5 separate regions of the Homo sapiens genome follow, and regions 1, 2, 3 and 5 are each linked to region 4. The links are contacts of gene promoters, found by promoter capture Hi-C in blood cells and fetal thymus (Javierre and others, 2016). All regions are on one chromosome and are shown on one strand. Each heading gives the region's core, a stretch centred on a gene start or on the middle of the fragment in contact. The rest is flanking DNA. Distances are from core to core; before and after follow the strand shown.

Evidence for each region. The method cuts DNA at HindIII sites, captures the fragments that hold promoters and counts their contacts. A CHiCAGO score of 5 or more calls a contact.
Region 1: a contact is called between a fragment that was not itself captured here and the fragment with the promoter of TYMS in region 4, in 1 of 17 cell types (M2 macrophages). The highest score is 6.4, in M2 macrophages.
Region 2: a contact is called between a fragment that was not itself captured here and the fragment with the promoter of TYMS in region 4, in 1 of 17 cell types (M1 macrophages). The highest score is 5.1, in M1 macrophages.
Region 3: a fragment that was not itself captured here is called in contact with the fragment with the promoter of TYMS in region 4 in 1 of 17 cell types (M1 macrophages); the score reaches 6.6 in M1 macrophages.
Region 5: a contact is called between a fragment that was not itself captured here and the fragment with the promoter of TYMS in region 4, in 3 of 17 cell types (M0 macrophages, M1 macrophages and monocytes). The highest score is 8.9, in M0 macrophages.

What each region holds. Positions count from the first base shown.
Region 1 is chr18:224,705-230,284 of GRCh38, reverse strand. It overlaps THOC1 (THO complex subunit 1), which reads left to right. Exons shown (of 21, transcript NM_005131.3): 12 at 3,384-3,484; 13 at 4,882-4,948; 14 at 5,146-5,196; 15 at 5,291-5,361. Among named protein-coding and RNA genes, the nearest start is that of THOC1, 41 kb to the left of the region's middle. The HindIII fragment of the contact is 4,135 bases long and covers 988-5,122 here.
Region 2 is chr18:163,754-169,140 of GRCh38, reverse strand. It overlaps USP14 (ubiquitin specific peptidase 14), which reads right to left. Exons shown (of 16, transcript NM_005151.4): 3 at 2,322-2,354. Among named protein-coding and RNA genes, the nearest start is that of USP14, 7.9 kb to the right of the region's middle. The HindIII fragment of the contact is 966 bases long and covers 2,072-3,037 here.
Region 3 is chr18:197,338-203,140 of GRCh38, reverse strand. It overlaps USP14 (ubiquitin specific peptidase 14), which reads right to left. Exons shown (of 16, transcript NM_005151.4): 8 at 5,445-5,525; 9 at 5,009-5,094; 10 at 3,825-3,939; 11 at 196-261; 12 at 1-43. Among named protein-coding and RNA genes, the nearest start is that of USP14, 42 kb to the right of the region's middle. The HindIII fragment of the contact is 1,836 bases long and covers 3,457-5,292 here.
Region 4 is chr18:653,204-658,902 of GRCh38, reverse strand. TYMS (thymidylate synthetase) reads right to left here and starts at 1,250. Exons shown (of 7, transcript NM_001071.4): 1 at 956-1,250. The coding sequence starts at 1,160. It overlaps TYMSOS (TYMS opposite strand RNA), which reads left to right and starts at 612. Exons shown (of 2, transcript NR_171001.1): 1 at 612-1,061. RefSeq lists enhancers at 538-657, 525-1,024, 1,025-1,526 and silencers at 888-937, 1,108-1,287. The HindIII fragment of the contact is 8,200 bases long and covers 1-5,699 here.
Region 5 is chr18:277,824-283,870 of GRCh38, reverse strand. No RefSeq gene overlaps it. Among named protein-coding and RNA genes, the nearest start is that of THOC1, 13 kb to the right of the region's middle. The HindIII fragment of the contact is 3,024 bases long and covers 2,280-5,303 here.

The sequences.
Region 1 (5,580 bases), core at 1,806-4,305, 430 kb after region 4:
TTGCACCCCCATCCCCCAACCCCCACTCTCCACCTTTAGGTTTGTTCCTTGTTGAGAGTTTAGATGCTGCTTTCTCCAGGAAGCCTTCCTAGAGTTGCTTGGGCAAATGGATGTTGGAGCCTCTCATTGAATTAGCCAATGCTGGAGAACAGCTTTTGTGGAGGAAATTGATGTTTTACTTTGTTCATGAAATCTGATCAGGTGTCAGTTGAACATTCAGGTAGAGATGTGTGATAGGTTGTCTAGTGTACAAAGCTGGAGACTAGGAACAAGATCTAGGTTGAGAGTATAGTTGTAGGAGTTACCAGTTTATAAATGGTAATTCAAACTGTAGAGTGTATGAAATGAGCTAAAGGGGAGAGTGTAGATTCAGAAGAGAAGAAAATACTGAAATCCCGAAGAAAACCCATGTTTAAGGGAGAATGAAGGGAGAAGAGGAGAAGATTGAAGAGTAACCTGTGAGATTAGAGAAAAACTAGAAAAGCATGCACTCATGGAAGCCAAGCATATCAAGTAGGATGAGGACAGTAAAGAGTGTTCACAGGATTTAACAACAAATAAGTCATTGGTGATCTTGACAAAACACTTTCTTCCCCCGCCCCAAGACCGATTGTTGCTCTGCTGCCCAGGCTGGAGTGCAGTGGCATGGTCTGGACTCATTGCAACCTCCGCCTCCCAGGTTTAAGCTATTCTCCTGCCTCAGCCTCCAGAGTAGCTGGAATTACAGGGCATGCACCACCACGCCCCGCTAATTTTTTTTTTTTTTAAATAGAGACGGGGTTTCACCATGTTGGCCAGGCTGGTCTCGAACTCCTGATCTTGTGATCCGCCCGCCTCAGCCTCCCAAAGTGCTGGGATTACAGGCGTGAACCACCACACCCAGCCGACAAAAACACTTTCAATGGATTAGTGGATGAGGCGGTCAGATGATAGCAGGTTGAGGAGCTGATTGGCAACAGTGCCTATAGTCAATTATTTTAAGAAGCTTTGCTGTTAAAGGGTTAGGTGAGAATGTGGGAGATTTTTGAGGGAGCTTATTTAATGCTTATGGAAAGGAGCTTGGAAAGAATAGGTTGTAGATACAGAAACCAGGGCAGTTAGTTGATGGAACTCAATTGTTAGGGATATTGGGATTCCAGATGGAAGGTAATCCAGATGGAATACCTTTAGCCGTGAAGGAGTTGTGACAGAAGGAAATGAAGTAAACAAAGGTGTAGGTGCAGCTGATTTGTCATTTTGGGGGCCAAGAAATGAAATGCTTTCCAATTTAATTTTTCTTCTCATTGAAGGCAAAAGTAGTTATCTACTGAAAGTGAGAAGGGGTGGTAAAGTAGTATTTTTGCTAAGTGGAAAGGGTTGAAAATCATTACTGTGAAGAGTAGGAGAGAGAATGGCCTTGAAGAATAAAGAAAGATTGCTGATTAAAAACAGATGTTTAAGGTGGTGACAACATACCAGTGGTGCCTTCTGCATAGCTGTGTAATTTGGGGTATTCACTCAGGCACCTCACTTTCAGCTGAGATTGGAATCCTGAGGGTTGGTATAGAGAAGGTGACTAACAGTTGGTTTATTCAAGGTTGCTGTTTGCTCACTAGACATGACAGAAGAAATATGGGACAAGTGTGTTGAAGTTGGCAAGAAAATGGCCGAAGAGATTAACCATGAAGTCTAGACCAGGAGTTGGCAGACTATAGCCTATAGGCCAAATCTGGCCCACCACCTGTGTTGGTTGTTTTTGGTGATTTTGGTTTTTTTTTCCCCCTTACATTTTAGATGTTTAAATACCTACATAATATCCATAATATGTCTCTTAGCCCACATAACCTATTAATAAAAATACTTACTATTTGACACTTCAGGAAAAAGTTTGCTGACCCCTTATCTAGACTAAAATAGGATTATAATAAAATGGGATGGGACTAACAGGCAGAGAATAGACGGGTCAAGGGCCTTAAAGTCTCGGTAAGATCCAAATATTAGGTATATTGGAAGCAACTGAGCGAGAGACCTGGGAAGGATAGAGGTTGTGGTGAGATAGGATTGTGAGTTGAAGACTTCAGATCTGGGGCAGCTGTGAGTGACCCCAGGTCTAGCTGTGGCCACAGTAGTGGGTAGCTGGAGCAGAGATGGGCCTGTCCGTGGAGTTAAGGGCAAGGAACTAACAGCCTGAGTGGAGACAGTCAAGTTGCCCAGGGGCTGGAGGAAGGGAAGGCTGATGGCCGGCCATTCACATTTCCAATTTGGGATAGGAGAGTTAATATAAATAACAATCAAATATATTCAATCCTTAAACGTGAGGGAAACCTGACTGGAAGGCTGATCATTAATTTTTTTTTTTAAGACCTGGAGCCACAGTGTGGAAGGGGTTGCTAGTGAATAGGGAGGCTTGTGCGTGTTAGGTAGCATTAGTAAATGGTACCAACCACGTAAAGCAGAGCCACCAGCACTTGGGACATTGAACCAAAACCAATCTTCGACGCTTCCAGCTGCCTTACTGGCGATTCATTTAGAAGAACGTGGCTTTCCTTTGTTACTGTAGTTTTTGAAGGCAGAACTAGCATGAGTTTGTGGATACAGACTTCAGCCTTCCTTCAGTGTTCCATGCACATAATCAGAATGACCTTCCTTCATCGCCGCAGGTTATTCTTACAGCTGGATGGCAGGGTCGTTGAAGAACTTCCTCATGAGTGACCTTCAAGTCCTTTCTAATCCAGATTCTGTGATAATACAAGTATGATGCAATTTTCACTAAAAGCTAAAAAAAAAAGCCCATCTAATCAGAGATGATCTTCACCTCTAATTTCTTGTTTATTGTCAAGTAATACCTCTGTTGCAGGCACTTTATAGGGCTACAAAAATGAGTGGTCCCCGTTGATATTGTGCTGTTATCCGTATCTTCTTTAGCCATTATTTCTTCATATGTGAGAAAGTAGTAGCCTCAGTTTTACTTTAAAAAAAAATTTTTTTTTTAAATTTAGAGTCTTGCTATGTTGCTCAGACTGATCTCGAACTCCTGAGCTCAAGTGATCCTCCTTCTCAGCTTCCTGAGTAGCTGGGACTATAATAGGCTTTGTGCCACCATGCCCAGCTTACTTTTTTCTATTTCTGCTTTATTTTATCCTCATGTCTGGACCATAGATAGATCATTGTTATCCACCAGCAAGAATGTGTCATGGCATAAAACAGTCAAGAAATCTAAGTGAAACCTTGACTGGGCTGTCTTTGGGCTTGTGCGGTAATGCCTCACATGCAGTGAACTCTCAACAAATGGCTTTTAAATTGAATTGGAATCTTCCATTTCTATATTAGCACATTTTGTACCTTTAGGAAAAACTTGATTTTAATGTGTTGTTTTCGTATGTGTTTGCTTGTTTCTTGAGTAGCTGATGGATTTACAACTGAGTGACAGTAACTTTCGTCGACACATCCTGTTGCAGTATCTCATTTTATTCCAATATCTCAAGGGGCAGGTCAAATTCAAAAGGTAAGATAATATGGGTAGTAAACAATTTGTAAACAGTAGCCAAGAAAAAAAAGGACTTGCTTACGATTTTTCTTATGTATGTGTCCATTTCATGTTAAGGCTGTATCCCTAAAACACATGTATTGCAGCTGATACATTGAAGGCTTTTCGATATTAGGATATTTAAGGAAAAGATGTTAAATATATCTGTCAGTGTGAGTTTTTCCTGCCCAACTCCAGGGCTTGCCAGGAGTTGTCGTCTTTATTAGCAGGTGGAGGTCTCTGCTCCAAAATTCCGTCATTCCCTTCTCACCTCCCTCAGACCTCCTCCAAAGCTGATTTGCAGACTAAGCCAGTAATACATATCTCACAAGGTGTGGAGCTCTGCAGGACATTCAAGCTAAAAGATGCAAAGAAAATTTTTAAGCAAAAAGGAGTTCATTTATTTGGGGTTTCACAAAACCTCATTAGGCTCTCTACTGTCTATCTAAATACTTCCATCCATTTCCTCCTATCCTGTCCATAACTGAAGGTGGAGCCCACTGTTACTTAACGGTATTTGTGTTAAGGACACTGAGCAATGCCGTATTAGTTGTATAATGACTTCACTACCTGCTGGGTTTGAATCCCAGGCTCGTCATTTGCTGGCTGCAGTGCAGCTCTTTCAGACTTGTAATTTTAAGGTAGTAGCACATGGTAAACACTCAAAAAATGTTATTTCTTATCCTTCTATCTATTTTGGAGGTTTGGTATAGCATAGTAGGAAGATGAGGGACTTTGAAGTGAGACGTGGGTTTGAATTAAATCTTTATGGCCTTGGGCAAATCAGTGAGACACGGTAGTCTCTGTTTAATATGTACATGTACTTGTTCCGAGAATTCAATGAATAATGTATGTAAAGTGTTCAGATCCTAGCCATCAATATTTATTGGATGTCTTTAAATCACCTAGTGCATTATGAGAGCTCAGTTAGTGGCAGCTATTAACAATTTGGGTTTGCCTGTTGCCTTTTCTAGGGTTTGGGTGTTTTATTCGTTGTATTTTGAATGAATCTTAATGTAGCATGCCATACTGAATGTGCATCATGTATACACATATCTTAATATCAAATCAGAAGTTTTCGTTTCACACTCAGCTTATTTTAGGAAACATATATTGCTCTGTTCATAGTGAATCTGATTGATTAATTGAATGTTTTATTCCCTGCATATGCTTTTATGTCTTCAGTACCAACCCTCTTGAGGAAGAAGTGCAAGAATTTTCTCTTATAATCCTCTCATTTGTGATTATTCTTGTCTTGGTAATTTTTGACACTATCCACAGTATAGTTACATGTTACATGCCTTGTGTTTTTTAAACCTTAAAGTTGCATATGCATTGCTGTAACTCAAGCATGCTTTCATTGCTTTGTTCCCTAGTTCAAACTATGTTTTAACTGATGAGCAATCACTTTGGATTGAAGATACTACAAAATCAGTTTATCAAGTAAGTTCAACACGCAACAAACCCATGATTGAAAAAATGGAAATTTAGGATTTTCTTTGTTTCAGCCCCAAATAGGAAAATAAGGATAAAGTTAAGCTCAGGTACAAGACCACAAACACTCCTTGGTTCTCTGCCTACAAACCACTCCTATGATGCAGAAAGTTGTTGAAAGCTTAGTATATTCTTTCTAATCACAGCTACTATCTGAAAACCCCCCCGATGGAGAAAGATTTTCAAAGATGGTAGAGGTATGTGTTTTTTATGCTTACATCCTCTTCTTAGCACGAAATAGAACTTCAGAGGATTCCACTAACCAAAATGTAATCGCTTTGTTTTTCCCAGCATATATTAAACACTGAAGAAAACTGGAACTCGTGGAAAAATGAAGGTTGCCCAAGTTTTGTGAAAGAAAGGTAAATACATACTGAAAGAAAGGTAAATACATACTCATCACAAGAACGACGAGAAAGGCTTTTGAAAATGTGCTCCGATATGATTATAGCATGTAAAAATACATGTATATATTTCACATAAAAAATGTAAGTTGAACTTTGTAAGAGTACAACCACTTTGATTTACCTCTGTATTTTTTAAACCTCATAAATTTCTTGTCATTAAATTCCTGGAACAAA
Region 2 (5,387 bases), core at 1,305-3,804, 490 kb after region 4:
GGGATTACAGGTGTGAGCCACCACACCCAGCCAAGATGTCCACTCTTATCACTTTTTTTTTTTTGAGATGGAGTCTCGCTCTGTTGCCCAGGCTAGAGTACAGTGGCACAATTTCAGCTCACTGCAACCTCTGCCTCCCAGGCTCATGCCATTCTCCTGCCTCAGCCTCCTGAGTAGCTGGGACTACAGGCACCTGCCACCATGCACGGCTAATTGTTTTGTATTTTTTTTTTAGTAGAGACGGAGTTTCACCATGTTAGCCAGGATGGTCTCGATCTCCGACTTCGTGATCCACCCGCCTCGGCCTCCCAAAGTGCTGGGATTACAGGCGTGAGCCACCGCGCCCGGCCACTCTTATCACTTTCTATTAACACTGTATTAGAAGTCCTATTAAAAAGTAGGACAAGGCCTGGCACAGTGGCTCACGCCTGTAATTCCAGCACTTTGGGAGATCAAGGCAGGCAGATCACTTGAGGTCAGGAGTTCGAGACCAGCCTGGCCAACGTTGCGAAACCCTGTCTCTACCAAAAATACAAAAATTAGCCAGGCATGGTGGTAGGCGTTTGTAATCCCAACTACTCAGGAGGTTGAGGCAGGAGAATCACATGAACCCAGGAGGCAAATAATGCAGTGAGCCAAGATCACACCACCACACTCCAGCCTGGGCGACAAAGCAAGACTCTGTCTCAAAAAAAAGAAGTCATTTGCTTATCAATTATATGTCAATAAAGTTTAAGAAATCTGAAAGTCACGAATATTGAAAAGGGAGAAGTAAAATTGTCATTATTTGCAGATAACACGTTTATGTACACAGAAAACCCAATGGAATCTGCCCAAAACACAACTGGAATTAGTAAGTGAATTGCTTACAAGAATAAAGAATGAAAATAAACTTAGAAAAATCAACTGTATTTTGGCCGGGTGCGGTGGCTCACGCCTGTAATCCTAGCACTCTGGGAGGCCAAGGTGGGCGGATCACCTGAGGTCGGGAGTTCGAGACCAGCCTGACCAACATGGAGAAACCCCATCTCTACTAAAAATACAAAAGTTAGCTGGGCGTGGTGGTGGGCGCCTGTAATCCCAGCTCAGGCAAGAGAATTGCTTTAACCCGGGAGGCAGAGGTTGCAGCGAGCCGAGATCGCGCCATTGCACTCTAGCCTGGGCAATAAGAGTGAGACTCTGTCTCAAAAAAAAAAAAAAAAAAAAGAGAGAAAAATCAATTGTATTTTTACATTCTAGCCATGAACACTGGAAATATTTTTTAATATTATTTTAAGCAGCGAACAAATGTTAAGTTCCAATAATTTAAGAGAAGTCATGCAAGGGCTGGGCACAGTGACTCACACCTGTTAATCCCAGCACTTTGGGAGGCCAAGGCAGGAGGATCGCTTGAGCCCTGGAGTTCAAGACCAGCCTGGGCAACATAGTGACACCCCCATCTCTACAAAAAATAATTAAAATTAATTAATTAACTGGGCATGGTAACACCCGCCTGTGGTCCCAGCTACTTGGAAGGCTGAGATGGAAGGACTGCTTGAGGCTGGGAGTTTAAAGCTGCAGCGAGCCATGACCATGCCACTGTGCTCCGGCATACGTGAGAGTGAGACCCTGTCTCAAAAAAAAAACCACTCATGCAAAACCTCTATGTTTAAAAACTACAACTCTGCTAAGAGAAAAACAGAGACCTAAATAAATAAGGAAGTACATCATATTCAGGGATTTTAATACTCAATATTGTTAAGATGTTTATTCTCCCCAAATTGAGCTACAGATTCAATGTAATCTCAAACAAAATCTCAAAGAGGAGAAAGTTGGAGAGCATAAGAACATATACTATCTTATTTCAAGACTCTTTTTTTGGAGACGGAGTCTCGCTCTGTTGCCAGGCTGGAGTGCAGTGGCACGATCTCGGCTCACTGCAATCTCCGCCTCCCAGGTTCAAGTGATTCTCCTGCCTCCTGCCTCTGCCTCCCGCCTCAGCCTCCCACCTCAGCCTCCCGAGTAGCTAGGATTACAGGCGTGCACCACCACACCCAGCTAATTTTTTTTTCAAGGCTTTTATTATAAAGCTTTAGTAATCAAAACCATTTGGTACTAGTGTAACTTTAATCTACTAGATCAATGAAACAAAAACCCAAAAACAAACCTATAACTACTTTTCAAGAAAGAGCCCAACACAAGTCAATGGGAAAAGGTAAGTATTTTCAACAGATAGTGCTGGAACAACTGGATATACACATGAAAAAAAGTCATCTGGAATGTATTTTGGTATCATAATGAGGTTACTGCATTATAATAAACGTTCATAAGATAATACTTACATTTTTTATTTTGATGTTTCCCCAATCATCATCCTGTTTCAAAGACAAACAAAAGACATTTAACCACCACTGTACAAGCTGAACACAATCTAATAATCAATTTATTTTAATGTACTTCAAAACAGAATAAAATTTATCCTATATGCAGATTTTATTTAAAATTATGGCAATTAAAAAAATTTTTTTTGGCCAGGCACAGTGGCTCACGCCTGTAATCCCAGCACTTTGGGAGGCTGAGGCAGGCAAATCACCTGCGGTCAGGAGTTCGAAACCAGCCGGACCAATATAAAGAAACTCCATCTCTACTAAAAATACAAAAAGTAGCTGAGCATGGTGGTGCACACCTGTAATTCCAGCTACTCGGGAGGCTGAGACAAGATAATTGCTTGAACCCAGGAGGCAGAGGTTACAGTGAGCCGAGATCTCACCACTGCACTCCAGCCTGGGCAACAGAACAAGGCTCCATCTCAAAAAAAAACAAAAATTTTTTTTAAACACAAGTGGTACTAAAGCCAGGGTTTCAAATAATTTGCTTCAACTGCATAAGGTAACACAATACAAAAGGCAGTAACCTGTATTTACAGCATCAAATACTAAAAAACACATAAGTATAAAAAAATACTTTTAGCAAGTACTAAAAAACACTTGACTAATGACAAATGATAGATCCTATTTTTTGGATGTTTGGAACCAGCAGAGCTAATAAATAACAAGCTTACGTGGCAAGAATGAAGAGTTAATGTCTATAACGCATCTATAAAGCAAGTATATACTTTCCTTTCAATATGTTGAATAAAAATCAAGAATTTTTTTTTTAAATGCATGATTAGTCCAGAGTAATATTTTTACTAACTACAGCTAGGCCTTTCCCCTCATAGGATAAAGTCGATTCTATATTACTCCCTTTTATAGAAGGTATCGGGTACCCAATATGCTTGTCTACCCTTCATTGGTGCCACTAATTATCTCTTTTATCTGCTTTAAAATGGAACGGTAACTTCCTAAAGGCCCTTCTCAATTTAAGGTCTATGACTGCTAAACATAATGAATGATAACTATAAATGCCCCCTAAGATCACTTACCCAAGGTCACACAAAACTGGGAAGTGAACACAGATCTGCTTGATGTATAAATCATATGCTCTTTTGGTGCCTTACTATGTTACTTAAACCTCTTTGACACTCATTTATAAAATTTCCTCATATATAAGATATGGATAACATACAGCTGAGAATTAAAGAAAATATAATAAAAGCCTGACATAAAATAAGTACTCAATAAATGGTAACCATTAGCAGTCACAGTTTCATTTAATTCGCATACTTCTATAATTCTCGACAGCATACCACTAGTACAGTGTTCAGCATAGATTAGGCTATGAAGTTCACTAAAGGCCAAAGGTTCATACTGTACCTTCGGGGGTAAACAAAGATTTTCCTCCAACGTGTGTTTTACTGCCCAGTGGGGGTAGCCTGTCTTTATCTCTAAAGTTAACTATAGATCTTTAGCATTTTATCTAACCCTTGAAGGAAGTATTTTTTAAAGCTATACTTATATTATTAAAAATAATAGAGGCCGGGTGTGGTGGCTCACGCCTGTAATCCCAGCACTTTGGGAGGCCCGAGGCAGGCATATCACTTGAGGTCAGGAGTTCGAGACCAGCGCCAACATGGTGAAACACTGTCTCTACCAAAAATACAAACATTTGTCACGCATGGTGGTGGTGACCTGTTATCCCAGCTATTCGGGAGACTGAGGCAGGACAGTCACTTGAGCCCGGGAGGCGGTGGTTGCAGTTAGCCGAGATGGCGCCACTGCACTCCAGCCCCTGAGTGACAGAGGGAGACTCAATCCCAAAAAAAATAATAATAATAATAGATATCTTCTTGTCTTTTCTGCAGTCCTTCATCAATGATGCTGGCAGGGATGGATTCTTAACTGTGGTCACTGAGATCATTCCAAAGGAAGTAAAGACAAAAATTAGGTTTCTTCTCTTTTTAAACAAAAATTTTTTCCTCCCATCTCCAGGTAGGAGTTAGGTAACAATTACTGTTTAGAAAAAAGGGGGCTGGGTGCAGTGGCTCACGCCTGTAATCCCAGCTCTCTGGGAGGCCAAGGTGGGCAGATCACTTGAGGTCAGGAGTTCAAGACCAAACTGGCCAACATGGTGAAACCCCATCTCTACTAAAAATACAAAAATTAGCCGGGCATGGTGGTAGACACCTGTAATCCCAGCTACTCAGGAGGCTGAGGCATAAGAATCGCTTGAACCCAGGAGGCGGAGGTTGCAGTGAGCCAAGATAGCACCACTGCACTCCAGCATGGGCAACAGGGCAAGACTCGTCTCAAAAAAAAAGAAAAAGAAAAACAGCTCTTCGTTAATGGGTAGGATGCAATAAAGGCCAAAAAAAAAAAATGAACAGTTTTCCAGAACCAGGGCTTTGGTAAAAATGCTGAAGTGCTTTGAATTTCAACATACAAATGCATGTACAAAATTACATTCTGTAGTAGTTTTTTTAAGAAAACAAACCTATCTGTATTGTTCCACATTTTTAAACTGAGATAAAATTTTCCAACCTCATTACAGAAAATTACTAAGGAAATATTAATTGGTTTCATTTTAGTCTAAACAAAATAAAACTAATACTTTTAATACATCCTCATAGGAAAAAAAATTCACACAATACAGATAACTGTAAAGTGTTCCACTCTCCTGACCCACAGAGGTATCTGGTAATACAACACATTTTAAAATAAAATTTAAATGATGCTTTTAGAACAAAGTCATGTCCTTTACAGCAACATGGATGGAGCTGGAGATCATTACCTGCTAGTTCCCTAGTAAACTAATGCAGGAACAGAAAAGCAAACTGCATGTTCTCTTTTGTAAGTGGGAGCTAAATAATGAGAACACATAGACACATAGACAGGAACAAAAGACACTGGAACTTACTTGAGGGTGGAGAGTGGGAGGAGGAAGAGGATCTAAAAAAAAAAAAAAACTACCTATCGGGTACTATGCTTAGTACCTGGGTGATGAAATCCGTACATTGAAACCCTGTGACA
Region 3 (5,803 bases), core at 3,125-5,624, 460 kb after region 4:
CCATCTGAATGGTCAAGTAAGCAGGCAGCCGGCTGATCTTGGACTGAGGAGACAAAATGTAAAGAAATCCCATTACATCAAAATACCATACAAGTTTTAATTATTTGGTGGTAAAAATTAAGACTGGATAAAATTAATTAACTGGAAATATTTCAGTGAAGCGGAATTTGGCTTCGAAAGGACTGCATAACTTACAGATTTGATATACAAGGCATTTCTTTGCAACGTTGGAGACTGTTTGGTGATTTCTTCCTGAAGTCGCTAAGAAAGAACATAACAGAAGACCAAACATTAGTTTTAAAAATTTTATTTCTGCAATATAGAATCACACCAGTAAGCCTTTTAAAAACTAGCACTACCTAAGAGGCAATATACAGTACATCAATGGGTTTATACCACTGAGACACAATTTGATGACAATATGGGAAGACTTTTAGATACTGTTCAATTCTTACAAGGCATCAAATAATTTACGTTGTTGTGGATTCCTCCGAGTGTAAATACTGTTTGCTCTTTTTTAGCTATGCCCCAAATGATGCTTAGATTCAGAGAATTTTATATTGTATTTTATATAACAAAGCTGTCATTCCTGTTTATTATCAGAATATTCACTCTAGAGGAAAATTAAGAGAGCCCAAGAAACTCCTGTTCTTTACGTTTTATGCATAAAAGCCAATCAGCACCAATGAATTATTGTTAAATTTGAAAAAAGTCATAACACAGAAACCTCTGTTAACCTAACAGATGTGGGAAAGCCTTTAGCTGCTGCACATATCTTAACCAGCATGATCACCTTTCTGCTTCTTACAGCCCGTGTAACAGTGGAAACGGTATTTATCCCTCTGGGCATCATTTGGAAAAGGTGGTAGTGGTAATCAATGTTATAGTGTTATTGTTAGAATTACAGTCAGTACATGTAGAAAACCTGGTAAAATATTTGGCATATACTCTACATTTAACAAACATTCACTACTATTTCTAATGTCACAGAAAGAATTAGCACTACTTATGTGCTCTGCTTTAAGAAAACAAACAAAAAAGAAATTAGAATTAAAATAACCTACTGGTAATGTTTAAGCATGTTACACTTGTATAATTTTAAAGTCTGATTTTTTAAAATTACTAATCATATTACAAAAGGAATCACTGTGGAGTAGCTTTTTAACATTTAACCAAGTTTATTCAGCAGCAAAGCAGTGGAGAAACGAAGCCAAATTACTCAAGAATTATCAGAACAAAAGATAAAATATCTTAAAAGTTATAAAGGAAATAAATACATTCTAGGAATACAGGTTTTTCAAGAAAGTATATCTGGTGAAATCTTATTATTACCACCAATCCACTATCATCTAGACCTTCTGGGTATGTTCGGTTTTCCTATACTTTTACAAAATTGTGAAGAAAATACCATCCTGGAGAGTCCCTGCCAAAGCACTCCACTCCACACTCTCCAGTTAACACTGAGACTTCATTTGCTGGTATATCCTGAAACTTGCACACCATGCCTTACATGATTTGGCTCCTGGGGGTTAAGAAGTTTTGTGTGTTTTTAAATGAATTTCTCTTAAAAGTCACCATGTTCATATCCACACTGGCTCAAAACTCTCCCCTCGGTATCATAAGACAGAGCGTGACTCACTCACTCTTCTTCTTATGCCCTTTAACAACCCTTCCCCTTGCCAACCTTATCCCAAACTATAGATGAGAGCCCCCAGATAACAAATCATCTTGTTTATCAACATAATCCATGTCCCACTTCAGTGTTTATCAACCCACCTCCTCTGCCCAAACTAGGCCTCTGCACAGAGGACCTATTCCAATGTCTCATCATTTTTCACTGACTTTTCTTCCTTCAAGACTTCTCTTTATTGGTCATGGTTAGAGGAGACAGCAAAGAGGATCAACCAGGATTTTTAAAAATTCTGCCCTCCAGGCCCTTCTTCAAATATCTAGATGTTGCAATGGCTAACTTTTATTCATGCATTTATTTTTCATACAACTGTGTTTAGGAAGAAGCTAACTTTTAAAATAAATAATCCTGGCTGGGCACGGTGGCTCATTCCTATAATCCCAGCACTTTGGGAGGCCGAGGTGGGCGGATCACAAGGTCAGGAGATTGAGACCATCCAGGCTAACATGACAAAACCCTGTCTCTATCAAAAATACCAAAAATCAGCCAGGTGTGGTGGCACGCACCTGTAGTCCCAGCTACTCAGGAGGCTAAGGCAGGAGAATCTCTTGAACCTGGGAGTCAGAGGTTGCAGTGAGCCGAGATTGTGCCACTGCACTCCAGCTTGGGTGACAGAGAGAGACTCCGTCTCAAAATAAGTAAATAAATAAATAAAATAAAATAAAATAAACAATCCTAATTATCAGTGCTTTTGAAGTGGAATCACATGAACTATAATTTGAAAACTATTAAAAGGTATCAGTTCAAATGGGGAGATCCTTCGAGAGATATACATATCCCCAAAGCACACCAAATTAGTAAGTCAGCAAGCAAAACCGTATGTTTTATCCATGGGCTTATTAGCAGAGTGGAAGCTGACATTTTATGTGAGTCCGTATTCTTTAGTATGGCACTGGAAAAGCAGCACTAACTGAATAATGAAAGAAGCAAGTTCTAGTTCTGGCTCTGCCAAAAGCCAATTAGGTTACTTTAAATTCCAGGGCCTCAACTGCAAGACAGTGCAATGGCAGAACGACTACATGCCCTGATTTGCACAGAAAAATCCCAGTTTATATTGCATAATTACTAACATACCCTCATTCACTCTCCACCAAAGTGTCCTGGTTTAGACAATACATTATATGATCACCCTTAATGGTTAAGAGCACAAACCCACAAACAACCCTATAGTTACTCTCATTTTCACGTAAGAAAACAGTAGCTTAGATTAAGTAATTTTCCTTAAAGTTAACAGTTCAGCTAAGTTATAGGGCCCATGAAAACAACTATCTCTAAGGAAAAATCTTAACAAACATGTAAACTATTCAACAAACATTTCTTGAGTGCTTTAAAATAAAGCAAGGTACAGCACAAAGCACTAGGTGCTTCTTCACAGTGTGAAGCAGGAACACCCAGTGATTAAAAAGTGAGATGTCCCAATATTTGTTAGCATATGCAACCATGTCAATAATGCTTTTGTCTATGAAATGAAGAGCTAGTTGAAGTTTGTTTGATTTCTGACTATACAGTTGATTTTGTTAGTCACGGTAATTATGTTCTACAAAGTCACCACAAGCACTGAATCAATGAATACTGAACCACTGCTCCTAGGGGAAATACAGGATTAGATTCCCGCCAGCCTTTGATCACAACATTTTCATCAACCAATCAATACATAACCTTGTTTTATGTGTGTTTCTGTTTAAGGACACCTTATTTCACATATTGTGTTGATTAATTAACATTGAACTCAGAGCCAACAGTGCAACGCAGGCCCAACTGAAGCTTCTCTAACAAGTATATTTTCTCAGTAAGGCACATCACAGCCTTCCCACACCTAGAAACACTAGACAGCACTCAGCCCTGTGCTTGGGGGGTCATCTTAAACAGTGAAATAACCAACAAAAAGCAGAAATTTTTTTTTAAAACAACAGTTCTAACATTCCTGCTAAAATGGTATTTGTTTACCAAGCTGAAACAAGAAGGCCAAGTACTTGTTTGACCTCAGATGGGACTGTGTGTATCGGGCAACTCAAAATGCGTATTGCTCTGCACATGTCTACAAATGACCATTAAAGCCCAGTGAATAATGACTTTGGCTTACTCGCAAACATGGAATTCACAAACAACAAGGATGGACTGAGATTGTCCTTACCAATTTAAGTCCTGTAAAAAGATACTTGACTTCCTGATTGATAAAACAGCTAAGCTGAAGTTGATTTTCCTTTCCTTTGGTGACTTCTTCTTCTTCAGATTCTGTACATTTCATGCTTTGTAAACTAAGATAAGGAATATGCCAACGGGTATTCAATTTGTTATATACTCTTGAATATAATACATTATCCTAATTCCATTAAAATTAATAGTATCATTCATTGGCATTTAAAACCTTTTAGTCTCCCAAGATTCATTTCAACATACTTAAGAATGTTCATTTGGCTACCAACAATTCTAGAAACAACAATGAGTAATAAATGTGTATTAAAAGATAAACTGCAATAAACTCTAAACTATAAGCTGGTATTTAGTATGGTCTTATAATGGTCTTAGAAGCCCAAAGGTACATAAATTGTTTCTAAGTTTTTCTAACCATGACCTAGAAGACAGTACTTTCCTGATTCATGTTTTATTAACTGGTTCAATCTCATGTATAGTTGATACACACCCTTTTATAAAATTAAAAAATTCTTTTTTTATTTTAAAAGTTATTATTAACAGTCACCTTGACATATAAGAAATTAATTCTTTATAAGGTGAATGAAAATGAGGTAGACTCTGCTAAAGATGTTCTTAGGAAAAAATAATAAATATCCTTCAAGAAATAAATTTAAAATAATTATATTAATCAAAACATAATGAATAATCCCATTATCCTTCAAGATCACTCCAATAGGTATATTTTTCCAAATTCCTAATTTCCATTATTGTATTTTTTTAGGTATAAAAACCTCTGGGCTGGGCGCGGTGGCTCACACCTGGAGGCCAAGGTGGGTAGATCAACTAAAGTCAGGAGTTCAATACCAGCCTGACCAAGAGGGTGAAACCCCATCTCTACTAAAAATACAAAAAATTAGCTGGGTATGGTGGCATGCACCTGTAATCCCAGCTACTTGGGAGGCTGAGGCAGAACTGTTTGAACCCAGGAGGTGGAGGTTGCAGTGAGTCAAGATCACACCATTGCAATCCAGCCTGGGCGACAAGAGCGAAACTCCGTCTCAAAGAAAAAAAACCTCTGAAGAATTTTTCTTCTACCCACCACCAATCAATCAGCCAATGATGCTATTTATGCCAATTCTAATAAGGTATGAGTATAGTCTATATCTTGGCTCATAAGGATACGTAGTTTCAAACTCAACACCGAAGAACTGATCGATTAAACTTTTCTTTTTAGAAGGTGTCGCTGCCGATGCAGATGAGGAGTCTGTCTGCAAAAATTAAAATAAAAATTCCAACTTTATATAAATATTAATGTAGATTTTCTTCCACACAATCCAGTTTAGTAATACATATTTTTTTAAAAATGTAGTCCCTTACAGTAAAATCCTTCAAAAAACATTACCAAAAATCAACAATGAATTAAGTTTAATAAATAATACATTAAATTTAAATGTCGTATGCAAGCTTCCAAATTCTGACTACAGATTGAGCATCTAAAGTATTTAAATACACATCTACCTATAAGATGGAACTTATTTTAAGCCTTTGAGGGGAAAAAAAATAAAAAAAAAAATCAAGGTATAACGAAAGTCTATAATCACAAATATATTTCAATTACCTCTTTAACAGAATCATCCTCTATTGCTTCCAATTTCTGTTGCAATACTCGCATCATTTGTATCCAACATTCATTAGCATCCTGTAATGTAAAAAAAGACAAAGTAAGTAATCCTGGCAGTGAATGATCTACAAAGTTCTTCCAAAATAATCACTGTCTCCTAGGCAAGAAAGTGGTTTCCTTCTTTAAAAATATTAAGCCAAATAAGACATACGATCTTCCAAAAAATAAAGCATTCTAGAATAGCTTATTCATTCAACAGACATCTGCTGAGCTCCAATTTGTGCTAAACACTGTACTAGATACTCAGCATAATAGCAGTGAATATATAAAATTCAAGTAGAGATAAGGGTTATGAA
Region 4 (5,699 bases), core at 1-2,500:
CTAGATGGGTCCGTGGGCCGGAGGGCTTTTCCGCTAGCTACAGTGAATCTGCTTCACCACGAATGGGTTTCCCCATTCAAAACCACCTCCACCCCTGTGTCAAGGCTGCGCTCCATTTATCTGAGCGGTCAAGGTCAGCCCCTGGCTCACACACCTTCGAGTCCCCTCCCCCGCGCAGCTGGCGCAGGATCCAGGACGGCAGGACGGTGTGGCCTTAGGGAGGGCCAACGGCTGCCTAACGTCCTGTGCCCACCCCGCCCCGCCCCACTGTCCCCTGAAAGCCTGGCGCCAATGACCCGCGAGACATTTTTTGCCTGGGGTGCTCCTGTCGGAAAGGAAAGAGGAAAGGACGACTAAGAACTTATACTCGAACTCCCGAATTTCTCTTTTCAAGGTTTAAGAGGAAAGCTGGTTCGTGGGGATTGGATGGGAGGCCACCAGGAAACCAAGTTCCCGCGCCAGCTTCAGTGCTCTCCTCTTCCCGCCGCCTTTGCCCCGCCCACATCACTTTCGCTCCAGTTTTTGAAAACGCTGCGAAGCGGAATGGTCCACAGGGGAAAACGGAGGAGGGGCCAAAGCCAGGACTTTGAGACCGGCGCGCGGTCAAGCCCAGGCAGCTCTCCCTAACCCTCCAGCACTGGGCAAACGCTGCCCGATGACGCCCGCCTCGGGGGCCACGGCATCACTGGGGCGACTGCGAGCCCGGCCGCGGAGCCGCTGGGACGCGGCTTACCTCCCGGCTGTCGCTGCTGTGTGTGTTGCCCGCGCCAGTCACGTCCCTAATGGGACCCTCCGTTTCGGCGTCTGTAAGGCGAGGAGGACGATGCGTCCCCTCCCTCGCAGGATTGAGGTTAGGACTAAACGGGGTCCGCAGCGCCCGGCAGCTCCCGAGCGCTCTCCCCAGCCGCGCCTCCCTCCTTCCCGCCACCCGTCCCGCAGGGGCCCGCGGCGTCACCTCTCAGGCTGTAGCGCGCCTGCATGCCGAATACCGACAGGGTGCCGGTGCCCGTGCGGTCGTCCTTCCTGACGCCGCAGCGGAGGATGTGTTGGATCTGCCCCAGGTACTGCAGCTCCCCGTGCGGCGGACGCGGCTCGGCGTCCCGCTCCTGTGCGGCGGGGGGCAAGGGCCGGCGCGGCAGCTCCGAGCCGGCCACAGGCATGGCGCGGCGGGCGGGGGACGGAGGCAGGCGAAGTGGCGCGGCGGGACGGAGGCAGGCCAAGTGGCGCGGCGGGACGGAGGCAGGCCAAGTGGCGCGGTGGCAGGACCCCTTCCGCGCGCCTTTTCCCGCGGCCGTCCCGCGCTCCGCCTCTTCCTGCTCGGCGGGGTCGCGGCGGCCCCCGCTCTAGAGAGCGTGCGCCAGGGGGAAACGCAGGAGCCACGGGTGTGGCACAGAACGGAGCCCAGGGCCACAGCTGAGAGTCTTAGGAAACCCGGGAACCTGGATGCAGGTGCGGTGGCTGGGAAGGACTGCGCCCTTTGGGAACCGTCTGGTCGACCGCGCCTTCTCTAAGCCAGCAGCACAGTTCCCACGTTTTCCTGCGGTCTTGTCAACAAAACTGCTGTTTGAGATCTGTTTCCTACAACTAATAAGGGATTTGCATTTCCATTTCTTCGTTCTCACTGAAGCAACCGAAGCAAGTGGTATAATGCAGCTTTTCTACTTGATTAAAAACCGCCAGGGCGCTGGACGCGGTGGCTCACGCCTGTAATCCTAGTACTTTGGGGGGCCGAGGCGGGTGGATCACCTGAGGTCAGGAGTTCAAGACCAGCCTGGACAACATGGTGAAACCCCCGTCTCTACTAAAAGTACAAAAATTAGCTGGGCGTGGTGGCTACTTGGGAGGCTGAGGCAGAAGAATTGCTTGAACCTGGGAGGCAGAGGTTGCAGTGAGCCAAGATCCGACCATTGTACTCCAGCCTGGGCGACAGAGCAAGACTGTCCCAAAAAAAAAAAAAAAAAAAAAAAAAAGACCGCCAGGGCTTTTCCGAGGTTTTTTGTTTGAGCCCTGGCGGTCTTTTTTTTTTTTTTTTGAGACAGAGTCTCGCTCTCTCACCCAGGCTGGAGTGCAATGGTGCGATCTCGGCTCACTGCAACCTCCGCCTCCTGGGTTCAAGCAATTCTGCTGCCTCAGCCTCTCGCGTAGCTGGGACTACAGGCGCCGCCACCACGCCCGGCTAATTTTTTTTTTTCATGTTTAGTAGAGACGGGGTTTCGCCATGTTAGCCAGGCTGGTCTCAAACTCCTGACCTCAGGTGATCCACCCACATTGGCCTCCCAAAGTGCTGGGATTACAGGCGTGAGCCACCGCACTCGGCCCCAAGTTTTTAATAGACCACATTTCCCAGTTTTACTGAATTGTTTATAACATTAACACTGGGGAGTGGGAACTGTTGATGAAAAGAGTTAAACTCTGTAAAATATCTGAAGAAATTTATTCTGAGCCAAATATGAGTGACCAATGGCCGGTGATAGAGCCCTCAGCAGATCCTGAGAACATGTCCCCAAGGTGGTTGGGCTACAACTTGATTTTTTATACATTTGGTTGAAAGAATTGTTATCTAAAGATCTGGAATCAATAGAGGGCTGGGCGCGGTGGCTCACGCCTGTAATCCCAGCACTTGGGAGGTCGAGGCGGGCAGATCACGAGGTCAGGAGATTGAGACCATCCTGGCCAACATAGTGAAACCCTCTCTACTGAAAATACAAAAATTAGTGGGGCGAGGTGGCACACGCCTGTAACCCCAGGTACTCAGGAGGCTGAGGTAGGAGAATCGCTTGAACCCAGGAGGCGGAGGTTGCTTGCAGTAGCTGAGAAAGCGCCACTGCACTCCAGTCTGGGTGACAGAGCCGTATGGGGAAAAAAAAAAAAAAGATTTGAATGAATAGAAAGGAATATCTGGGTTAAGATAAGGGGTTGTGGAGACCATGGATTCATCATGCAGATTAAACCTCCAGGTAGCAGGCTTTAGAGAGATAGATTGTAAATGTTTCTTGTCAGACTTAAAGAGTGTGTTCTACCTGTCTTGAGGCCTGTGTTGATGTCAATGCTGGTCAGCTGTGCCTAAATTCCAAACGGAGGAGGGAATAATGAGGCATGTCTGGCTCCCCTTCCCATCATGGCCTGAACTAGTTTTTGTGGTTAAATTTGGAATGCCTTTGACCCAGAGGAGTGGTCTTTTCAGATGGTTCTGGGCGTAGAATTTTATTTTTGGTTTACAGAACGATTTTATAATGAGTTTAAAATGCACTGATACATGTGTTGTACTTGCAAGCATCCTTTTACCTCAACGGTTGATTGAGTACAGAGGTGCTCTCAGCATTTTGGGTGGGACTTTTCTTAGCTGGACCGGTTTGTTCTGCACATTGCAGGGCTTTAGCAGGACTGTGGAAAGCCAACCATATGTTGGCATTCCCCCACCCCACACCAGCTGAAAACTGTCCCTACACGTTTCCCTACACGTTTCCGAGCACGAGGAAGATCCCAGGCTGAAAATATTCCAGATTATCCAGATGCACGTTATCTGTGTTTAATTTCCTTGTGTTATTCTTTTTCCTTTTTTTTTTTTTTTTTTTTTTTTGAGGTGGAATCTTGCTCTGTCCCTCAGGCTGCAGTGCAGTGGTGCTCAGCTCACTGCAAACTCCGCTGCATGGGTTCAAGCAATTCTGCCTCAGCCTCCCAAGTAGCTGGAACTATAGGCGCCTGCCACCATGCCCAGCTAATTTTTTTTTCTTTTTTTTTTTTTTTGCATTTTTAGGAGAGACAGGGTTTCACCATGTTGGTCAGGCTTGTCTCAGACTTCTGATCTGAAGTGATCTGCCCACCTCGGCCTCCCAAAGTGCTGGGATTAAAGGCGTGAGCCACCATGCCCAGCCTTACTTGTGTTATTTTTTAAAAACCTGATACATAATAATTGTGAGGTAGACAGGGCTTGACTCTGGAGGCAGGGCTCTGACATGGGACCAAATTGAGGAGTAGTCAAAACAAGGATGGGGCAGAAGTAGTTTTCCATAAGACGTGCCCACCAGTGTGCCATGTCAGTTTACGATTGTCATGGCAACATCCAGAGCTTACTGCCCCTTTCCATGGCAGTGAGCCGACAACCGGAAGTTACCACCCTTTTTCTAGACATTTCTGCATAATCTGCCCCTTAATTTGCATGTAATTGAAAGTAGGTTATAAATATCACTGCAGACCTGCCTTTAAGCTACTGCTGTCAGCACACTGCCTATAGGGTAGCTCTGCTCTACAGGGGCACTCAGGGAGCTGTTGCCATATCAGTAGAGCTTTTCTTCTACCAGGTAGCTCTTAAATTCTTTCCTGAGCAAAACCAAGAACCCTCCTGAGCTAAGCCCAATTCTGGGCTCACCTGCCCTGCATCAGTTGCACATCCTTGTGTGTTTTTTTTCTTTCTTTCTTTTTTTCTTTTCGACGGAGTCTCGCTCTGTCACCCAGGCTGGAGTGCAGTGGCAGAATCTCAGCTCACTGCAACCTCTGCCTCCCAGGCTCAAGCAATTCTCCTGCCTCAGCCTCCCGAGTAACTGGGATTACAGGCACCCATCACCATGCCCAGCTAGTTTTTGTATTTTTAGTAGAGATGGAGGTTCACCATGTTAGCCAGGCTGGTCTCGAACTCCTCACCTGAAGTAATCTGCCTGCCTCGAGCCTCCCAAAGTGCTGGGATACAGGCGTGAGCCACTGCACCCGGCCCCTTGTGTTATTTTGAGGCTGGTTTATTTGTTTCACCCAAATACCAGCTAAATCACATCTCAAGACTAGGCTCCTCTGCCCACATGGAGCTTCCACTTCTGCTGCCTTCCTTGAGTATCTTGGCTTGATAGTAAAGACAGAATGGTTCTTTTCAAAGTAGTTACTCCATAAATGTTGGTTAGAATGAATGGTTCTCTCAGACAAATTTCATTCATTCATTCATTAACACACATTTATATCATGGTGCCTTCCTCATGTCTACAAACAGCAAGACAGACAAGGCCCTTTTCTTCATAGAACTGATATTCTGGCAGTGACAAACACTACAAAAGTAACCAAACAAGACATCTGCAGATAGTGACAAGTGTGATGATAGTAAATTAATGGGTATAGCACTAAACAGTGATTGTGTAGAGGGTGCTTTAGATCTGATCACCAGGAGGCCTCATTGAGGAAGTCACATTTGAGCTGAGACCTGAATACTGGGAAGAAACCAGCAGGGGAAGATCTGGGGAAAGAACATTCCAATCAGCAGGTGCATTTATACCAGTAGGTGCCACAGTGCTTGCATCTATAAAAACATCCCCCAATAGGGACGGTCATGATGCTTAATCCTGTCTTGTTCTAGGAAGAAATAATAATTATTAGTGGATACGTTAACTTATTGGAGTATAAAAAGCTCTTCCTTCTCATTAAGAGATATATTTGTTTAAAATTTTACTTTTATATGTTTAGTAGTCATAGAAATTTGTAGTATATTTATGTTATTTTGATCAATTATGTACAAAAAATAATTATAATGATCACCCAATCTAGAATAAATATTTCATACCTAGAATTTGATGTCACAGGATGTTCTTAATTTTTAAAATTTAAAAATGATCAAAATTGTGTTGATCAACAAAAGATATTTAAGCATAAAAATATACTACATTAGGATAAAATTCTTAGGAATGTAGATTGAAATAAGAGTTTAGGGAGAAAATGTA
Region 5 (6,047 bases), core at 2,542-5,041, 380 kb after region 4:
TGATTGACCAGGGTAGTGGTTGCTGAAGGCTGGGGGAGCTATGGCAGTTTCTTAAGACAGCAATGAAGTTTACATCAATTGACTCTTCTGTCACAAATGGTTTCATTGTAGCATGTGATGCTATTTGATAGCATTTTACTCACAGTAGAACTTCTTTCAAAGTTAGAGTCAGTCCTCTCACAAACCCTGCTGCCCACTGCTTTACCAATTAAGTCTATATAATATTCTAAATTCTTCATTGCGATTCAATGTTTTCAACAATGTTCACAGCAACTTCACCAGGAAGAGTCCACCTCAAGAAATCACTTTCTTTGCTGATCCATGAGAAGCAACCCCACATGCACTCAAGTTTGATCATGAAATTGCAGCAATTCAGTCATATCTTCAGGATCCTCTTCTAATTCTAGTTCTCTTGCTATTTCTACCACATCTGCAATGACTTCCTCCACTGAAGTCTTAACCCCTCAAAGTCATCCATGAGGGTTGGGATCTAATTCTTCCAAATTCCTATTAATGTTGATATTTTGACCTCCTCCAGTGAATCACAAATATTCTTTTTAATTTTTTTTTTTTTTTTGAGATGGAGTTTCGCTCTTGTTGCTCAGGCTGGAGTGCAATGGCGTGATCTCGGCTCACTGCAACCTCCACCTCCTGGGTTCAAGTGATTCTCTTGCCTCAGCCTCCCGAGTAGCTGGGATTACAGGCATGCGCCACCACTCCGGCTAATTTTGTATTTTTAGTAGAGACGGGGTTTCTCCATGTTAGTCAGGCTGGTCTTGAACTCCCAACCTCAGGTGATCCACCCGCCTCAGCCTCCCAAAGTGCTGGTATTACAGGCGTGAGCCACTGCACCTGGCTAAAATTTTTTTATTTTTGTTTTTGTAGCGATGGGAGTCCCACTATGTTGCCCAGGTTGGTCTTGAACTACTGGGCTCAAGTGTCCTTCCGCCTCAGCCTCCCAAAGTGCTGGGATTACAGGTGTGAGCCTCTGTGTCTGGTGCACAAATGTTCCAAATGGTATCTAGAATAGGAAATTCTTTCCAGAAGGTGTTTTATTTACTCTGCCCAGATTCATTGAGGAATCACTATCTATAGCAGCTATAACCTTACTAAATGTAATTTTTTTCACAAAATGTAATTCTTAAATAATAAGACTTGGAAATTACTCCTTGATCCATGGGCTGCAAAATGAATGTTGTGTTAACATAAAAACATTTTAATCAACTTGTATATCTTCATCAGAGCTCTGGGGCAACTAGGTGCATTGTCAATGCACAGTAATATTTTAAAGAAATCTTTTTTCTGAGCAGTACATCTCAACAATGAGCTTAAAATGTTCAGTAAACCATGCTGCGAACAGATGTGCTGTCATCCAGGCAAAGACAGAGTAGACTCACATAATTCTTAAAGGCTCTAAGATTCTCAGAGTGGTAAATGAGCATTGGCTTCATCTTAAAGTCACCAGCCGCATTAGCCCCTACCAAGAGAGTCAGCCTGTCCTTTGAAGCCAAGCATTGATATCTCTCTGGCTGTGAAAGTCCTAGACGGCATCTTTTCCAAATATCAGGCTGTCTTGTCTCCTTCATCAATGATCTTAGCTAGATCTTCTGGATAACTTGCTGTAACTTCCATCAGCACTTTCTGCTTCACTTTGCATTTTTATGGTATGGAGATGGCTTCTTTTCTTAAATCTTATGAACCAACCTCTACTAGCTTCAAACTTTTCTTCTGCAGCTTCCTTACTTCTCTCAGCTTTCATAGAATTGAAGAGCATTAGGGCCTTATTACATATTAGGCTTTGGCTTAAGGGAATGTTGCGGAGAGTTTGATATTCAATCCAGACCACTCCAACTTTCTCCATATCAGCAATAAGTCTGTTTCACTTTCTTATCATTCATGTGTTTACTAGAGTAGCACTTTTAACTTCCTTCAAGAACTTTCACCAGCCTGTGCAACATAGTGGGACCCAATCTCTGCAAACAATTTAAGAATTAGCCAGGCATGGTAGGGTGCACCTGTGGTCCCAGTTTCTTAGGAGGCGGAGGTAGGAGGATGGCTTGAGCCTGGGAGGTCGAGGCTGTAGTGAGCCATGATCATGCCATTGTATTCTACCCTGAGTGACAGAGTGAGACCCTGTCTGAAAAAAAAAAAAAGCAAAAATTTTAAAAGAAAGAAAGAAAAAAAAGAACTTTTCCTTTGCATTCACAACTTGGCTGTTTAGCACAAGAGACATAGCTTGTGGCCTGTTTCAGCTTTTGACATGCCTTCCTCACTAAGCTTAATCATTCCTTGCTTTTGATTTAAAGTGAGGACATCCGACCCAGCTTGGTGGCTCACACCTGTAATGCCAGCGCTTTGGGAGACTGAGGCAGGAGAATCACTTGAGGCCAGGAGTTCAGGCTGAAGTGAACTATGATTATGCCACTGTTACTCCACCCTGGGCAACAGAGTGAGACCCTATTTCAAAAAATATATCTAAAGTAAGAGATGTGCAACTCTTCCTTTCACTTGAACATGTAGAGGTCATTACAGGGTTATTAGCTTCCTTTCAATATTGTCTTGTCTCAGGGAATAGGGAGGCCCAAGGAGATGAACAGAGACAAGGAAACGGCAGTAGGTGCAGCAGTCAATGGAGCAGTCCGAAGACACACAACTTTTGCTGATTAAGTTCGCTGTCTTATATGGGTGCAATTCATGACACCCCAAAACAATTATAATAGCAACGTCAAGGATCCCTAATCACAGATCACTATAACAGATATAATACCAAAAAGTTTGAAATATAGAGAGAATTACAAAAATGTGACACAGAGACACAAAGTGAGCACATGATGTTGGGAAAATGGTACCAATGGACTTGCTCAACACAGAGTTGCCATGAACAGTCAACTTGCAGAAAAAACAAACAAACAAAAGAAACAGGCCAGATGCAGTGGTTCATGCCTGTATTCACAGCACTTTGGGAGGCCAGGGTGGGAGGATTGCTTGAGCCCAGGAGTTCAAGACCACCCTGGTCACCATGGTGAAACCCCATCTCTACAAAAAATACAAAAATTAGGTGGATGTGGTGGCATGAACTTCAGCTACTCGGGAAGTTGAAGTAGGAGGATCACCTGAGCCTTTGGGAGGTTGACTCTGCAGTGAGCTGTGACTGTGCCACTGCACTCCAGCCTGGGTGACAAAGTGAGACCCTGTCTCAAACACCCCCACCAAAAAAAAAAAAAAACCCACAACAACAACAAAAATACAATATCGCAATAAAGCAAAACACAGTAAAACAAGGCATGCCTGTATTACATAGATCTTCATTTTCTATATTGGATTCTATTTTCACTTTTGTCAAAAACCAAATAACCAACAGTCTGCATCTGTTTTTGCATACTCTGTTCTGTTCCTTTGGTCTACTTTTCTGCCCTTATGACACTATTTCATTACCTTAATTACAGTAGCTTTATAAAGTCTCAAAATCTGGTAGTGTAATTCCTCTATTATTCTTCGAGATTATTTTAGCTATTAAAATTCCTTTGCATGTCTGTGTAAATTTTAGAATCGCGCTACTCAATTGTTACAAAAAGTATGCTGGGAGTTTTACTAAGAGTGTGTTGAATCTATGACCAATTTGGGGAGAATTGATATGTTTATAATATTTAATCTTCAAAACCATTAAGATGATTTGTCTGTTCAAAGACAAACCATTAAGACAGTGTGTCTCACCAGGCTTGAAATTTCTCCTATAAAGAAGAAATATTTTATCTTCTTTATCTCAGCAATAATTTAAAATTCTTGTACATCTTTTAGGAAATTCATTATTAGGTACTTGAGGTTTATACAATGGTAAACAGTGTGATTTTTAATATTATTTTCCAAATTTTTAGAATTACTATGTAGAAATAAAAATATAGATTGATCTTATTTTATAATCTTGCTATATTAACTTATTCATACTGAGTTATATATCTTTATTATTATTTTTTTTGAGACAGAGTCTCTGTCACCAGACTGGAGTGCAGTGGCACGATCTTGGCTCACTGCAACCTCCACCTCCCGGGTTCAAGCGATTCTCCTGCCTCAGCCTCCCGAGTAGCTGGGATTACAGACATGCGCCCCCCATGCCCAGCTAATTTTTATGTTTTTAGTAGAGACAGGGTTTCACCATGTTGGCCAGGATGGTCTTGATCTCCTGACCTCAAGATCCTCCCACCTCGGTCCCTCAAAGTGCTGGGATTACAGGTGAGAGTCACTGCACCCGGCCTATATACCTTTATTATCTTTTAATTTTCTATGTAAATAATCATGTCATCTGCAAATAAAGATGCTGTACTTGTGCCTTTTCAATCCTGTGCCTTTTGTTGCCTTTTAAAATCTTAATTCAATGGCTAAGACCTTCATTATAATGTTGAATAAAACTGGGTGAACGTGGACATCATCTTGTTCTAGGCTTTTTAGGGGCAACGATTTTAATATTTCACTATCATGATGTTAGATAAAGATTTTTAAAGACATCTTTTATCAGACTGAAAATTTCCCATCTATTTCTAGTTGGCTGAGTTTTTAAAAATCGTGAATAGACATTGAATTTCATCACCTTTCCTGCATTTATTAAGATGCTTATATTTATATTTTTCTCCTTTATTCTGATAACAGTGAATGATATAGACTGACTCCAGATGTTAAATCAAGCCTATATTCCTGGAATAAACCTTACTTGGTCATGATATACTATCCTTTTCAAATTTTATTGGATTTCTGTTTTTTTAGGTTTTTAAGACAGAGTCTTGATCTGTCACCCAGGCTGGAGTGCAAGGGCATCATCTTGGCTCACTGCAACCTTTGCCTCCTAGGTTCAAGCAATTCTTGTGTTTCTGCCTCCCGAGTAGCTGGGATTACAGGTGCAAGCCACCACGCCCAGCTAATTTTTGTATTTTTAGTAGAGATGGAGTTTCACCATGTTGGCCAGGCTGGTCTCAAACTCCTGACCTCAAGTGATCCACCCGCCTTGGCTTCCCAATATGCTGGGATTACAGGCATAAGCCACCGTGCCCAGCCAGGACTTCCTTTTTTCTTTTGGGACTTTTATACCTAAGTTCATAAGGGATATTTATCTGTAATTTTATTTTCTTGTAATGTACTTTTAAGGTTGCGATATCAGAGTTATGCTAGGTTCACAAAACAAGTTGGTAGATGGTTTCTCACTGTTTATTCTCTAAAGACCTTGTGTAAGATTGGTATCATTTCTTCCTTAAATGTATGGTAGAATTTACCAACGCAGCCATCTAGACCTAAAGTTTGCTCTGGAGAAAGCTTTTGATTACCAATTGCATTTCTTTAACAGATATAGGACTATTCATATTTTCTATTTTTTCTTTGTCAGTTTTAGTAACTTGTGTTTTACAAAAATTTTCTGTCTTCTAAATTTTCCAATTTATGGGCCTAAAGTTTTTCATAATAACCTATTATTATTATTATTATTGAGAAAGGGTCTTGCTCTGGAGTGCAGTGGCACTATTGTAGCTCCCTGCAGCCTCCAACTCCTGGGCTCAAGCAATCCTCCCGACTCAACTTCCCAAGTAGCTGGGACAACAGGTGTGTGCCACCATGCCTGGCTAATTTTTTTAATTAATTTTTTTGTAGAGATAGGGCCTCCCTGTGTTGCCCAGGATGGTCTCAAACTCCTGAGCTCAAGTGATCCTCTTGCCTCAGCCTCTCAAAGTACTGGGATTACAGGTGTGAGCCACCATTCCTGGCATATCATATTATCTTTTTAATGCCTGTAGGATCTGTAACAATGTCCCTTTTTCATTTCTGATATTGATAATTTTGCTCCTCTATTTTATTCTTGATTATATTGCTAAAGGTTAATTTATTAATCTTTTCAAAAAACCAACTTTTGGTTTTGTTCATTTTGTCTATTATTTGTTTTCTATTCTGTTGTCCTTATATTTATTATTTACTTGTCTACTTTCTTAGGGTTTCATTTGCTCTTCTTTTGCTCACTTCTTGAGATGGACATTTACTAAATTGATTTTAACCTTTCTTCTAATATATGC